3 separate regions of the Homo sapiens genome follow, and regions 1 and 2 are each linked to region 3. Evidence: promoter capture Hi-C in 16 types of primary human blood cells and fetal thymus (Javierre and others, 2016). All regions are on one chromosome and are shown on one strand. The core of a region is centred on a gene start or on the middle of the fragment in contact, and the rest is flanking DNA. Distances in the headings are between cores, read along the strand shown.

The links. The method cuts DNA at HindIII sites, captures the fragments that hold promoters and counts their contacts. A CHiCAGO score of 5 or more calls a contact.
Region 1: a contact is called between a fragment that was not itself captured here and the fragment with the promoter of FH in region 3, in 1 of 17 cell types (non-activated CD4 T cells). The highest score is 10.7, in non-activated CD4 T cells.
Region 2: a contact is called between the fragment with the promoter of TPR here and the fragment with the promoter of FH in region 3, in 1 of 17 cell types (total CD4 T cells). The highest score is 7.1, in total CD4 T cells.

What each region holds. Positions count from the first base shown.
Region 1 is chr1:219,167,585-219,171,722 of GRCh38, forward strand. All of the region lies in intron 1 of LYPLAL1-DT (LYPLAL1 divergent transcript), which reads right to left. Among named protein-coding and RNA genes, the nearest start is that of LYPLAL1-DT, 4.1 kb to the right of the region's middle. The HindIII fragment of the contact is 5,683 bases long and covers 1-4,138 here.
Region 2 is chr1:186,373,207-186,377,613 of GRCh38, forward strand. TPR (translocated promoter region, nuclear basket protein) reads right to left here and starts at 2,047. Exons shown (of 51, transcript NM_003292.3): 1 at 1,672-2,047; 2 at 153-257. The coding sequence starts at 1,822. ODR4 (odr-4 GPCR localization factor homolog) reads left to right here and starts at 2,632. Exons shown (of 14, transcript NM_017847.6): 1 at 2,632-2,768. RefSeq lists a silencer at 1,182-1,231 and enhancers at 1,792-2,091, 2,252-2,301, 2,472-2,661. The HindIII fragment of the contact is 6,872 bases long and covers 177-4,407 here.
Region 3 is chr1:241,517,620-241,522,113 of GRCh38, forward strand. It overlaps FH (fumarate hydratase), which reads right to left and starts at 2,136. Exons shown (of 10, transcript NM_000143.4): 1 at 1,972-2,136. The coding sequence starts at 2,103. RefSeq lists silencers at 1,571-1,840, 2,016-2,298, 2,121-2,250 and an enhancer at 1,914-2,510. The HindIII fragment of the contact is 3,380 bases long and covers 1,152-4,494 here.

The DNA.
Region 1 (4,138 bases), core at 867-3,366, about 22 Mb before region 3:
TAATTTAACTCCAACAAGTAATATCTGAGACACTGTTCTAGGTATTTCAGGAGGATACAAAGAAATAAAACAGTTCTTGCTATTAAGGCAACTACAATTTAGTAGTTCACAGGACTAGCCATGCAGGAAAAGTACTTAAACCTAGGTTTTCGTACCTCAAATCCATCGCACCTTCTACCACAGCTCAATGACAATTTTGTTTATAATTATTTTGAAATTGTGTATGTGTTTTCAGGTTTGCAAGAGTGTCTAATAAAGATATTTGTTTTCACTTATATTATTTTATTTTGTTAACCCCTGTGAAGGAAAACTAAATAAATGCATATGAATGAAAATATATAATGAATGACAAACTAACATTTTGAATAATCACTGCTTTAAACTTCTCTTGTCACTTGCATCCTTTTTCTATTGTGATAAAAAGCACATAATGTAAAATGATCTTAACCATTTTTAAGTGTACAGTTCAGTAGTGTTAAGTATATTCACATTGTTATGAAACAAATCTCCTGAACTTTGTCATCTTGCAAATCTGAAAATTTATATCCATTAAACTACTAATCCCCTTTTCCTCCTCTCTCCGGCTCCTGGTAACCACCATTATACTTTTTTTTCTATGAATTTGACTACTTCAGATATTTCATATAAGGGAAAGCATACAGTATTCATCTTTTTGTGACTGCTTTATTCAACTTAACATAATGTCCTCAAGATTCATCCATGTTGTAGCATGTGACAGGATGTTTTTCCTTTTTAAGGCTGAATAATATTCCATTACATGTATATATAATATTTTATTTATCCATTTATCTGTTGATGGACATTTGGGTTGCGTCCATCTCTTGGTTGTTGTGAATAGCACAGCTATGAGCATGAGTGTACAAGTACATCTTTGAGCCCCTGCTTTCAATACTTTTCGGTATATACACCTGCATCCATTTTTAACCTACACAAAGAATATCTGCTCTTGAAGACTGACACTTTGCCATCAATCTATAAGAAAGTAAATTCTTTGGAAATATGATAAGACAAAATAATTGTATTAATTTGCCTTTCAAATATAAACTAAGGTAGATTTTTCAAAGCGTCTCGATTTTCTTCATATATAGTTATAATAAAAGAAAATCCATTGTCATACCTTGATGCCAATTATACATATATAGAAAATATTCATAAATATATATACACAGAGAAATATGCACATACACAGACACAACCTGAAAATAGTCTACTTCAGAATAAAGTGCACTTCCATTTTTCAAATTGCAAAAATTGACTTTATATTTTCTAATTATCTTTTTTTAAAGGTCTTTTTAAATTTTTTTTCCTGGCTTTTAAAAGTAATCACAGAAAGAGTAGGAAGAGATTAAGGCTGCTAAACTCAGCCATACAAGGAGGAAGGAGAATCACATGTGCTGATCTTTCTCATACTACTAACTAAAAGTTTATGTAGTGCAATTAAGAGTTTTGAACCATTATTTTATAAGTAGAGTTAAACATCAGAGGTATATTCATAAATGAGTGGCACATGTCACATATTTAAATTCTTTCAGGATCTCAGAATGACAGAACCTGGGGCTTCTCCATCAAGTCCTGCTCCCTTATTTCACAATTGGAGAAACGTGTCCAATGAGACTAAATGGCCTGTCTAATTTACATAGCTTGTCATCCCCGAGGCTGGAACAGGAACTCCTATCATTTCATTACTTCAACATTTTTTATATCTACCTATCTAATCTTCTCTTAAATGAATGTAGCAAAATACAGTAGATATTCTGACTGCATTCATAAGGAAATTACTCTTTTGGCTTTTATTTCTTTTCTTTGTAATAGACGTATGCAATGCAATGACTTCCCCTCATCTCATGGTAGGATTTGAACTTCCCTGCCCTCAAGGGCCCAAAACCTGATTAGGGGTTGCTGTTGATTCTTGCCCTGGATTTCAAAAGCCTGAAAATTTGTTATAGAAGAAAAAAGTAATAGGTTCTAGAGTACAGAGACAAATATGAAGATTGCAGGAGGGATTCCTCAGACTCATATAAGCACTGAGTGGAAGTTGAATAAGAAGTGTTTCCAGAGGGTAACTTAGGAATTTGAGAACTGGCCATAAGAGGTGTCCAAATGGAAGAAGACCCATTTCCCAGAAAAGAGGAGACAAATGGCAATGCAAAGAACATTGTTCTGGTGTCCAAGCATAAACACTGACCCTGTAGCCTGCACCCAAGGGAGGAAAGTTCACTGTCCTCCTCTAGGGCCTACATACTGCTTTGGTGTGTATCATGTTGACTGTTAATAATCCAGCAGAGTAATCACTATCCATTCTCCAAGGCTGCGTTTGGTCTGTGTTTGAGGAGCTCATGTATTCCCCTACCCCTACTGCCAATGCCATCTCAGTCCATCTCACAATGCCCCACGTGACCCATCTGCTCTAAAAAGAGAATGAGACCATGCACATCTAGTAGTAAGGTAAAGTAGAGGAATGACCCATATCTGTATCTGGAAAGACTGGACTGAAAAAGATTAAGGTCCCCAGAACTGAGGCAATGATTATGTTAAAGTTTATAATCTCATTTATAAAAAGTATAGTTTTGCTGTTTTGTAAGAATTCAGGACCTTTAAGTTTGTTTCTAGTTTTTCTTTCATGAATGGACAGGGGGAATGCATAAAAGAAATCATTTTATTTATCTATGACAAAATGTTAAATTACCTAAAGCTGAAGCTGAAGCATTTTGTGCAATGTGTATATATTGTTTATATATATATGTGTGTGTGTGTGTGTGTGTGTGTGTGTGTGTGTGTTTCTCTCTCTCTGAATGATGCAACAGATGAAAACTAACCAATAGAGAGGATATGGTTTGATGCTTAAGAATGAGCCAAACAACAAACGGGAAACTGTGTACTGTCTGCGTGACAAATGCAACTTCATTTAACTGTTATCATTTGAAAATACCAAGTATACTAATCTTGTTCATTGTTTTTGTTTCTTTTTTGAGACAGAGTCTTGCTCTGTCACCCAGGCTGGAGTTCAGTGGTGAGATCTTGGCTCACTGCAACCTCTGCCTCGGGGTTCAATCAATTATTGTGTCTCAGCCACCGGAGTAGCTGGGATTACAGGCATGCGCCATGATGCTCGGCTAAGTTTTTTTGTATTTTTAGTACAGATGGGGTTTCGCCATGTTGGCCAGGCTGGTCTTAAACTCCTGGCCTGAAGTGAACCGCCTGCCTTGGCCTCCCAAAGTGCTGGGATTACAGTAAGCCACTGCACCCAGGCAAAATATACTAATCTTAATGGCTGAACTTTCAATTGCTTTTCTGTTTTGAAAACTAAGTGTGGCCTAAAGCATTTCTCAACACACTGAAGAACAGTAAACTAAACTCCGACTTTGCCATTTATATCGTTAGATCCTAATTGATATTGAAACCCTGCAAAACAGGAGAACTTTTTCTTTTTCTTTTATTTTGTTTACTTGCTTTTTTAAGTTTAGAACTGAAGTTACCAAAAGGAGGTGCATATAGATTGGCAGAAAGCAAATGAGTAGCAACAAAAAATAATTAGGAGCTATATAAAGAGTAAAAGAATGTATGAATAGGAATCTTCCAGTGATAATATTCCCCCACCTTCAATAGGGCAAAAGATCCACCACAAAAGCAAATAGTCATCTTGAAACTTAATTACATTTCAAAGTAGTACAGTAACATGAAAGGAACAAAACATTTTTGTTCAACAGTTTGCCTACCAGATGGGATCTCTAAATATAGGTAATCTAAAACCTTTGCTTGTCCTATAAACAAATACAGATGAAAGGAATAGCAACAATAGCTAAGCATTTAAATCACTGGAAATAAAATAGCACTTTGGTTAAGTGTGGAAGAATCTGGCTCATTCTAATAATGAATCTGGGAAGGCTGGAGTTCTCAGTGAAATTCAGAATACAGAAGGTTGCTTCTGGTATTTACCACCTGCTTATCTACCTGTTTAAACTGGTAGAATAGTTGGAAGAACAAATCAGGAACTAATAGCAGTAGACTTGGGAAAAACTAAAGAAGCACAGGAACACCTAATAAATAGAGACTCTAAAGGGCCACAATACAAATTCCAGACTTTTGTTTTTGAAATAAGAGTTGCGACATGCCCTTG
Region 2 (4,407 bases), core at 797-3,296, about 55 Mb before region 3:
AAGTGAAAAATCAAAATATCACCATAATAAAAACCAATGATGCTTAATCAATATTTTCATGTTTAGTAAGCAAATGTTTCCAAAGTATATAAAGGAGTCTCTGAAGATTTCGATACTCCGAGAATACTTACAAAGATGAATTAAATACTTACTGAGTTTCTCTAGCTCAAGCCGCAAGCTTTGACACTCTCGGGTTTCATTCACAAGTCTCTCCTGACTGTGGGACAACCTCTTTTCTATTTCAAAATACTGTTGTTCTACAGCAGACAAGCAAAAAACAAAAAACAAAATCAAACACATGTACATACATTGTGAATACTGTTATTTATTTCTAATAACCTTGATTTTAAAACTTAAGATACAGTATTAGAATTGTGCTCCACATAAGAGAATCTGAGTAAAGATAAATAGACTGAGCACTGAAAAGGACTTAAAGCATTTCCAAACGACTTACATGACAAAAAATAAAAAATAAAAATAAGGCCTAAAAGGGGCTTTACAAATCAATGTCTTCAAGGCAGGTAACCTCATTTATCTTAGTATTTTCTCCAGACATCAGTAAACTGCTTAATAAATAAAGTATTTATTACACGAGAAAAAATTGTTTAGACAAAAAAAAACTCCTTTGTTTTAAAAGACTTCTTTTATAGTAGTCAAGATATTACCTGAAAGCATAAAACTACTAAATATATGTAAAAGTAAATGTGTAAACTTTCCAAGGGAAGGGATTGAATATCATGTTCAGCATAGTATCAGGAACATGTAAGACATTCAATATTTATGGTGCAAATTAATAAATAGAATGCAATGTACTATACTCAGCTCTGGGATCAGAGAACTAATTTTCAAGGTCAATTCTGCTTGACAGTTACACTTTTTTTGAAGTAAAAACTTGTTCAGAATTTCCAGTCAACTTAGCAAGAACAGTATGAACCTCCCCAAACAAATGGTAAACCAAAACACATTAACGGGAAGTTTGTATTTTACTAATGGTAATGACTATATTCTTCATATTTTTTTCAAGGATGTTCAAGCCATTATTGTCAGTAACTTTCTTACTTAAAGGCCTACTTTAGGTAATTACAAGAAAATTTTAATGTTTTCTATCAAACTCCAACTTTTTAAGAGAAATCAAGATATATTAAATTTATGTACTGCACATTCACTGTGTTTCCAGCGCTCTTATGCACCTAATATTCATTTTTGTAAACATCTGATTCGTTCTGGAGCCACGGGACGACGCACACACTAAGAACAAGTGCACAGAGTGGTCAATTTGGCAAAGGCCTAGAATGCAGGTGCCTAGAAAATAGGGCGGAGCCACTATCAGTTGAAGTGCAACAAAACATATAAGGTACTCTAGGCTTAGAGAGATGGGTTCGCAGACTCTATCAAGTCTGTTTCCCGTCTGCCGGACGAAGGAAAATAAGCGTCCCTGTATGAGCCTACCCTAACTACAAAGAAAATGCTACTGAACTTAGATTCAGATTTTTTTTTCAAAGGCTTCTTATCAAACTGTAAGGAGCAGGAAAGCGAAGGCTCAGGATATCCACAGAGCCCAGGAAGTGAGGTTAACAGAGCGGTACCCAGTGCCAACTTGATGGGGGAAGACCAGACCCAAAGGGCGGGAGTCGAGCCCAAAACCAAGGACGGAAAGAGCATCTCACTTACCGCTCTCCACCTTAAATTTCTCATGCCGCCCCTTCAGGCCATCGATCTCGGATTGCTGATCAGCAAGGAACTTTTCAAGTTTGTTCTGGACAGACTTGGGCAGCTTGTTCAGCTCCGTGCGCTCCAGGACTTGCTGCAACACCGCCGCCATGTCGGTGGGGCCAGGGACCCCAGTGGCAGCGGCCGACGGGGTAGAAGCGGAGAAGAAAGGCGAAGACCAGCAGGACCCAGACGCCTGGGCCGCCGCCTCTATCACCTCGCTCGGTGGCTCGCGCGCGCCCGCCCGCCGGAGACTCCCGCGGCGGGACCCTGGGAAATCGAGTCCACCCTCAGCGGCAGCGTTTCAGCAACAGCACCTCACCGCCCGCGACCGAAGTGCGCGCGCAGCCGTTGGAAGCTACGAACCCTGGGAACCCGAGCTCAGAGGCTATCCCTGATCCTCTTGCGCACCCAATTTTCCGGCTTCCAGCTCCACCCACTTCAGGCCTTGTAGGGCTCTGGGAAATGTAGTGTTTTTCTCATTCTTTTCCGGGAGCCCAATGCTGCACCGCCCTCTCAGCTTCCGTTTTTCTCCCCGCTCCCCTGGCTCTCCTATCTCGGCCCCGTAACCGCTGTCCGCACGGTGGCGCCACATACGTACTCGTCACCCCTTGGCCCTCCCTGAAGAGCTGGTGACCTTACCGTCAAAGCCCCGGGATGCCATGGATCGTCCTCGTTGGCGGCTTCTGGACACTGAGCCACTAGAGGGCATCGGTCCCGGTAGGGCCGGACGGCAGGCTCCGGGATACCGCCACGCTCTCTATGGCGCCCAGAAGGGGGCGGGGTGGCGACCGCAGTCGCTTTGGCTGAGGCTCTGCGGGGAAGGGAGGGGGGGCTTTTACGTCATCAATCTGCGCCACCTGACTCCCAAGTCCCTGGCTTTGGAGTGGGAAGTGAGGTGTGGGAAGTAGGTCGCTTTCTGATGAATTCAGTGGCAGTGAATTGAGACCGGAGGGAATCTGGCCCCTAGAGGCTGGTACTTGGGCCCGAAACCCCCATCTCCGGCGGAGAGACCGTCCGAGGTAATTGTCTGCCACGAGTGCACATTCTGAAAACAGGTAAGTCAGCCTAAGTGTAGTGTGTGTGTGTGTGTGTGTGTGTGTGTGCTCTCTTTTCAAGAGAAAAAGGAAGGGACAGTGTTGGAACCATATGGACAGTCACTCCGGCACACACTTCTGACGAACTTACCTTGTGTGAAACGGCGTACCTAAATGGTTTTTGGTGGTGGGGAGGTGGCACTGAGTGATTCAGTACCCGGGAATTTAAGGACCCGGGTTAATTCTTCAGGAGGAGAATTAAAAGAAACCGGTAGCACTTTGAGTGTAGCCTATGTTTTAAATTTTTCGTTGCAGAAACGGTTACCTAACATTATATTGTTTTTAAAATTGAAAACTGTTGTAACTGAAGTTTTTAAACACATTGTTAATTTCTACAGTAACAGAACTTGTATGGTTCCAGATCATAATTCTGTAGTTTTAAAGCTCAATCCGTAGATTGTTTCGTGTTTACTCTTATGAAAGAATTTGTTAAATTATTCATTGTAAATAATGCATTCCCAGTGTCGTCTCTCTGCAGTTCCCACAGTCGTGGGCCTTCTGTGAATTGGTGATTTAGTTCTTATATGAAATTTATTCTTTTTCTCTAGTTCTTACTTTTGAATCATGTTGTGAAGCCGTCTAAGAAATATAAATGGAAGCATTTTATGATATTTTGTAATAACTAAGGAAAAATAAATCAACAGCGGAGCTTAAGGTTGATTTTTCCCCAAAAATATTTTTTAGATAAGCATTGTAATTAAAGTTGCTGGTATATGAAGTATTATGCTATGTCCTAAGCCCACAGTATTATCATACTGTTGATCTGTCATTTGGGAAATGTAGATTTTTCTGTACTTAGATTCACAGAATCCTAAAATTAGATAGGTTTTCAGATCTGCTAGGATTCAAATGCTTTATTTTATAGATTAGGAAACCAGAGCCCAGAAAGGTTGAGTTGTGTCAGTCACAGTGCTTGGACCACAAAGGCTTTGGCTGATATACAACATTTCTGGAAAATTATGACCCTATAAGGCAAAATACAGTTGTCCCTTGGTATCCGTGGGGCATTGGTTCCAGGACCCTCTCACCTGCCCACCCCATGGATATGAAATCCATGGATGCTCCAGTTCCTTATATTAAATGGTGTAGCATTTGCATATCTTAAATCATCTCTAAGTTACTTATAATACCTAATACAATGTAAATGCTATAGTTGTTATATTATATTGTTTAGGGAATAGTGACAAGAAAAAACATCTTTAATGATACAGATGTAATCATGCTTTAAAAAAATAATTTTTCAATCTGTGGTTGGTTGAATACATGGAAGTGGAAACCACAGATGTGGAAAGCTGACTATATACATTTTTAGTACTGCCTTTTATAAAGTATGGTTGACTACATTTAAAAATTTTGAAAGAGCACTAAAGAAAAATTTATCTGACATTCAATCAGATTTCATAATTGAATAGATTTTCATCTCCCTATTACATTCAGTTTCTTACACATTAATATGGCTACTAGGTGACACCCTAGAAGAAATAAGGTTAAAAGGTTAAATATAACTTTAGAATTACTTGTATTTGTTGCAAGAATTAAGAATTATTAGACCAGAAGGAAAAGGAGTATAATATGATATAGAGGAAAGTAGATACATAGA
Region 3 (4,494 bases), core at 886-3,385:
TGGTCAAGATTTGGCCAATTCAATGTACTTAGTTTAATGCTTATTTTACTGGGAACTTTTGAAAACGGTCTAAGAATGATTATTTGAAATTTATAAACATTATTTATATATAAACATTATTCACATATATTACATATGTATATTCATTTATATAAGAAATGTATAAACATTATTTACATATATAAACACTATATATATGCCATCATGCTACCAAGTCAGTATCACAGTTGGTCTGCCTGTTAAATATTCTCATTCTCAATGCACTTTTTAATGCATTTTTAATAATCAATGATCACACTAATTATTCATGTGTGATTTATTTGCTTATTTAACTGCTTTGCTTATTTAATCTCCACTAAAGACAAGAATAAAACACTGCCTGTAAAACCCTATCCCCATAGGGACTGTCTTATTTACAGGGCCTGGTAAGTGGAAGGCACTCAATAAACAGTATCTTTCTATTGAATGAATTTGTATGTGTTCTTTTAAATAAAAGGTACCTTAGGGCATCAAGGGTTATGTGAAATTCTCAACATTAGCAACAGGAAGAACTTTTAACAAAACCAACAGAGATTTTGGACCTGAGAATGGTTAGAGGGCAAAAAGTACCAGAACTAGAAAAAACAAAAACTACCTCCATCTGATTTTAGCTAACATTACAATTCTAAGAGCAAAGTAGTGCTGCTATTTTTTGACATTTGCATCAACAGGATAGATTCAGAAGTTCTCCAGTCTGCTTCCCTTTACAAAACACTAAATAAACAATAAATAAATTTAAAAATATGTAAAGGTTTTAAAATGCCCTAAAATTATTCGAGCAGGGAGTTCGAGGAATACAAAACATCTCTGATTCTGTAGTATAGTTGTATATCGTAGGTATAGTGACCCAATCAAATTATCTTGAAGTTTAGAGTCCAGAAAAAGTACTGGCCCTTTGAAATACCCTAGATGGGGCACTTATTTAATGAGCACTCGCTACATGGTATTTTCACATGTGCAGTTTTGCTGAGTAGCTGTAAGTATTTCAACTTTGCATACGGATTTGAAATCACATCTCTTAGATTGCAAACCTCATGCTACACCAGTGCAGAACTGTAACTCTTCAACTATCATTTCTCAAACGTTTCCTAACAATATACATATGTATTTAAAGCTTTTTAAAAGCCTGCATTCCTAAAGATGACACTCTAAAGAGCAAAATGACTTACGTAAGCATGTCATAACCTGAACTTGGATCTTTAAGTTCTTAGCTGGCTTTCTGAATAAAAAGTACCGATTCAGCTCCTAGCCAATCTGCTCAAACATGCTTCAGAACACTATGCCCGCGGTATTCGGAATTGAAGAGTTTTACAACAATTACGGGGGAAACCATAGTCAGCCTAACAAACTGAGCATGCAATTTCAAAGGAAGTAAAATCTTCGAAGAACCTTCTACCCCACCTGGAGGGCCTGAAAGCAGTGCAGTGCCCCTTGGCGAAACAAACCACAGTTCAGAAACCACTAGATGCACAGGCGGCCAGTGTCCGGCCAGCAAGGCCCAGCTATGGGGCAGGACGGTGCGGGAGCTGCCCCTCTCCCAGCACCCTCCGCCCACGCCGGCACTGTCCTTGAGGGCAGCGCCCCGGGGCTGGGGGCCTGCGCGCCAGCAGCAGCGAAGTTACCTCAAAACGCCCCGGCCTCGGCCCGCCACGGACGGCTCCGAGGAGGCGCCGGGAGCGGGCCCAGTAGGACCCTCTCTGACAGCCCCCGTCCCTCCCCAAGCGCTCTCCCGGGCTGCGGCTCCATCCCTGCGCCGGAAGAGGCGTCCCGAGGCCGGGAGGCCCGCCACGCCGGCACGGGCGCTAAGCCCAGAGTCTGGCGCGGCCCGGACGCCCGGGGAATCTCTCCCGCCAAGTCGCGGGCGCCCAGGCCGGCAGGCAGGAGGGCTGAAGGTCACTGCGGGGAGGCCGGGGGATGGCGGCCTGCGCTCACCATTCGAGCCGCGTTCGGAGGCCAAAACGAGGGCACGGCCGCGCCACCCAAGCCGGGAGCCGAAGCTAAGGCTGCGGCTGGAGCCCGCACGAGGGGACGCGAGCGCGCGAGGAGCCGAAGTGCTCGGTACATGGTGCTGAGGGAGCTTGGGTAGAATTTCTGGGCGGCTGTGGCCACGCCTCCACGCCGGTTGTCAGAAACCGTTCCGCCCACCGGCCTCCGCTCTTATCCAATCAACAGCCTCACACCGACAGGTGGGGCAGGACCAATCGTGAATGACCAGTAAAGAATGAGGGGGCGGGTTAACTTTCTAGTAGTAGTGTGGGGTGTAAGGCCTTCGGATTCATGGGAAACTAGAAAGAAGGGAATTATGGGAAAGGAGGCTCAGGTTATTCTTGGAGCCGGTCTGATTTTTACGTGTGGCTGTTAGAAGGCGGGAGTATTAGTTGGTGAATCAGGTCGTGTTTGGTTGGTGAAATATCCTAGAAAGAAATATTTATTGTTTTATTTATCATGTAATCACTCATTACACGTTCTTACTACTGAAATCTTTCTTCATTTCTTCCAGATTGTATCTTCTGTGTAGAAATTTTGGGAAGTGCAGCAAAGTGTAGATAATGAAATAGTAATTATTCATAATCCCACAACTGAAAAATAAGCTACTTACTTATTTCTTTTAACTTATCATTTTGAGATCGCTACCGTTTCCTTTCTCTTCTTAGCCTATACCCTCAGAACTCTTTTTTTTTTTTTAATGTATTGTGGAAGACGTACACAATTATAGGGAACCTCGGAATTTTTATTATTTGTATATCGTTCTCCCAGTTTTTTGCATAGCTAATTTATACATTTTCAAATTAAAGGCATATTGTTTTAATATAATAGTTGATTACAGAAAAGCAGGAATTGATATAAAATTGCATCTGAACCACAGTTTTATCTTTTCTCTTTTCTATTGCTTGGAACCAGATGACAGTAAAGAGAGAGCGATCGGATGTTCTTAAAATCAAAAGTCCAGAACCTGCAAAGCCAAATTTATGAGTCAAACTTACAAACTTGCCAAACCTTTTGGTAACATTATGTTATTTTGTGACTTATAAATTTGACACATATTTAAAATATAAAAATTCAAATGAGATTGTAATAGTTGAACTACAATCAAAACACACTAGAAAACTGAATGCAAATTCTTTAAAACATTGCTAATAATGGAATGACGTTTTGTTTTTGTTCTCCTCCTTCCCAGCAGGTATCATTATTGTGTATATCATTATTTTGATGCATCCTTTCAGTTCTGTGTATTTTTTGCTTCATACACTAATATACAAACAATGGTTTTAATATTTTACTTTAAAGTTTTACTGTTGCATAATTGAACTCTATGCTTTTAAGATATAGCCATGATCTTTTAAAATTAATCATATTGGATCACATGAATATGAAATATTTTATTTATCCAGTTTCTTAATAAAGAACATTTTTCTTTGCTATTACACAAAATTATTTAATGAACATATGTTTATCATTTCTTCATAGATCATCTCTTTCTTCATTGTGTGGTGCCCCTCTTTATTGTTATTGTTGCTTGTCCTTTTAAACTTTTTTTAATATTGATATTTCTCTACCAATTTCATATTGGCTATTATTTGCCTGCTGTATATTTCTCATTTTATTTTATTTTTTGTTTCATTTTTGTTTCGAGCATGTCTCTTATTTCTACCATACAGTTTAACTTTTCAAAACCCAAATTAATAGCCTTTTTATAAATAGGTTATTTTAATCCCTTTTAAAAATTACCTATGACACATATTATGTTCTAGAATTTTTCAAAGCACTTTATATGTATTAATTCTTGGAACACTCAAAAACAACCCTATGAGATAGGTCCTATTATTATTCCTGTACATAGAAGAGAAAAATTGATGCCCAGGAACATCCACATATTTATTTGTGTGTTTTACTTCGATTTATTAGTGAAACTGATTTTCTATCTGCAGTAGTAATATGAAGTTCCATTTTTAATTATTCATTTTATTTGAAGTAAAATATTCAGTATAATATGAAGATGCTATATAAATGACTAAAATTTAGGAAATATTAACTTAGCTAATTTATTTTTATTAATTCGTAATAAAACGTACATAAAGCCTTTAATAAAGGCTAGATATCTTCATTTTAGAATGACTTATGTTATCTATTTGAAATAATGTTTTTACTTTGCTTAGAGTTTGGGTTTTTTTTTTTTAACTTTGGACTTGTCTGATAATAATATTGACCTGCTTTCTTCTTGTTGATGCTTGCCTGGTTTGTTCTTGTTTGTTTTACTTTGCTTTCTGTTTAAGGTAGGGGATGTGATTGGTGTCCTGCTGAGGGACAAGGGAAAAGTGCAATGGTTTTCTCTTGCCTGTGTTCTAAATCTCAACACCTGGCTGACAAAATTGATTGCGAGGTTCAAATTGTATCAATCAAAATGTTCTCCTTATTCAAACTAAAGACTTTTGCAAATTCTAATTTAGGATACCT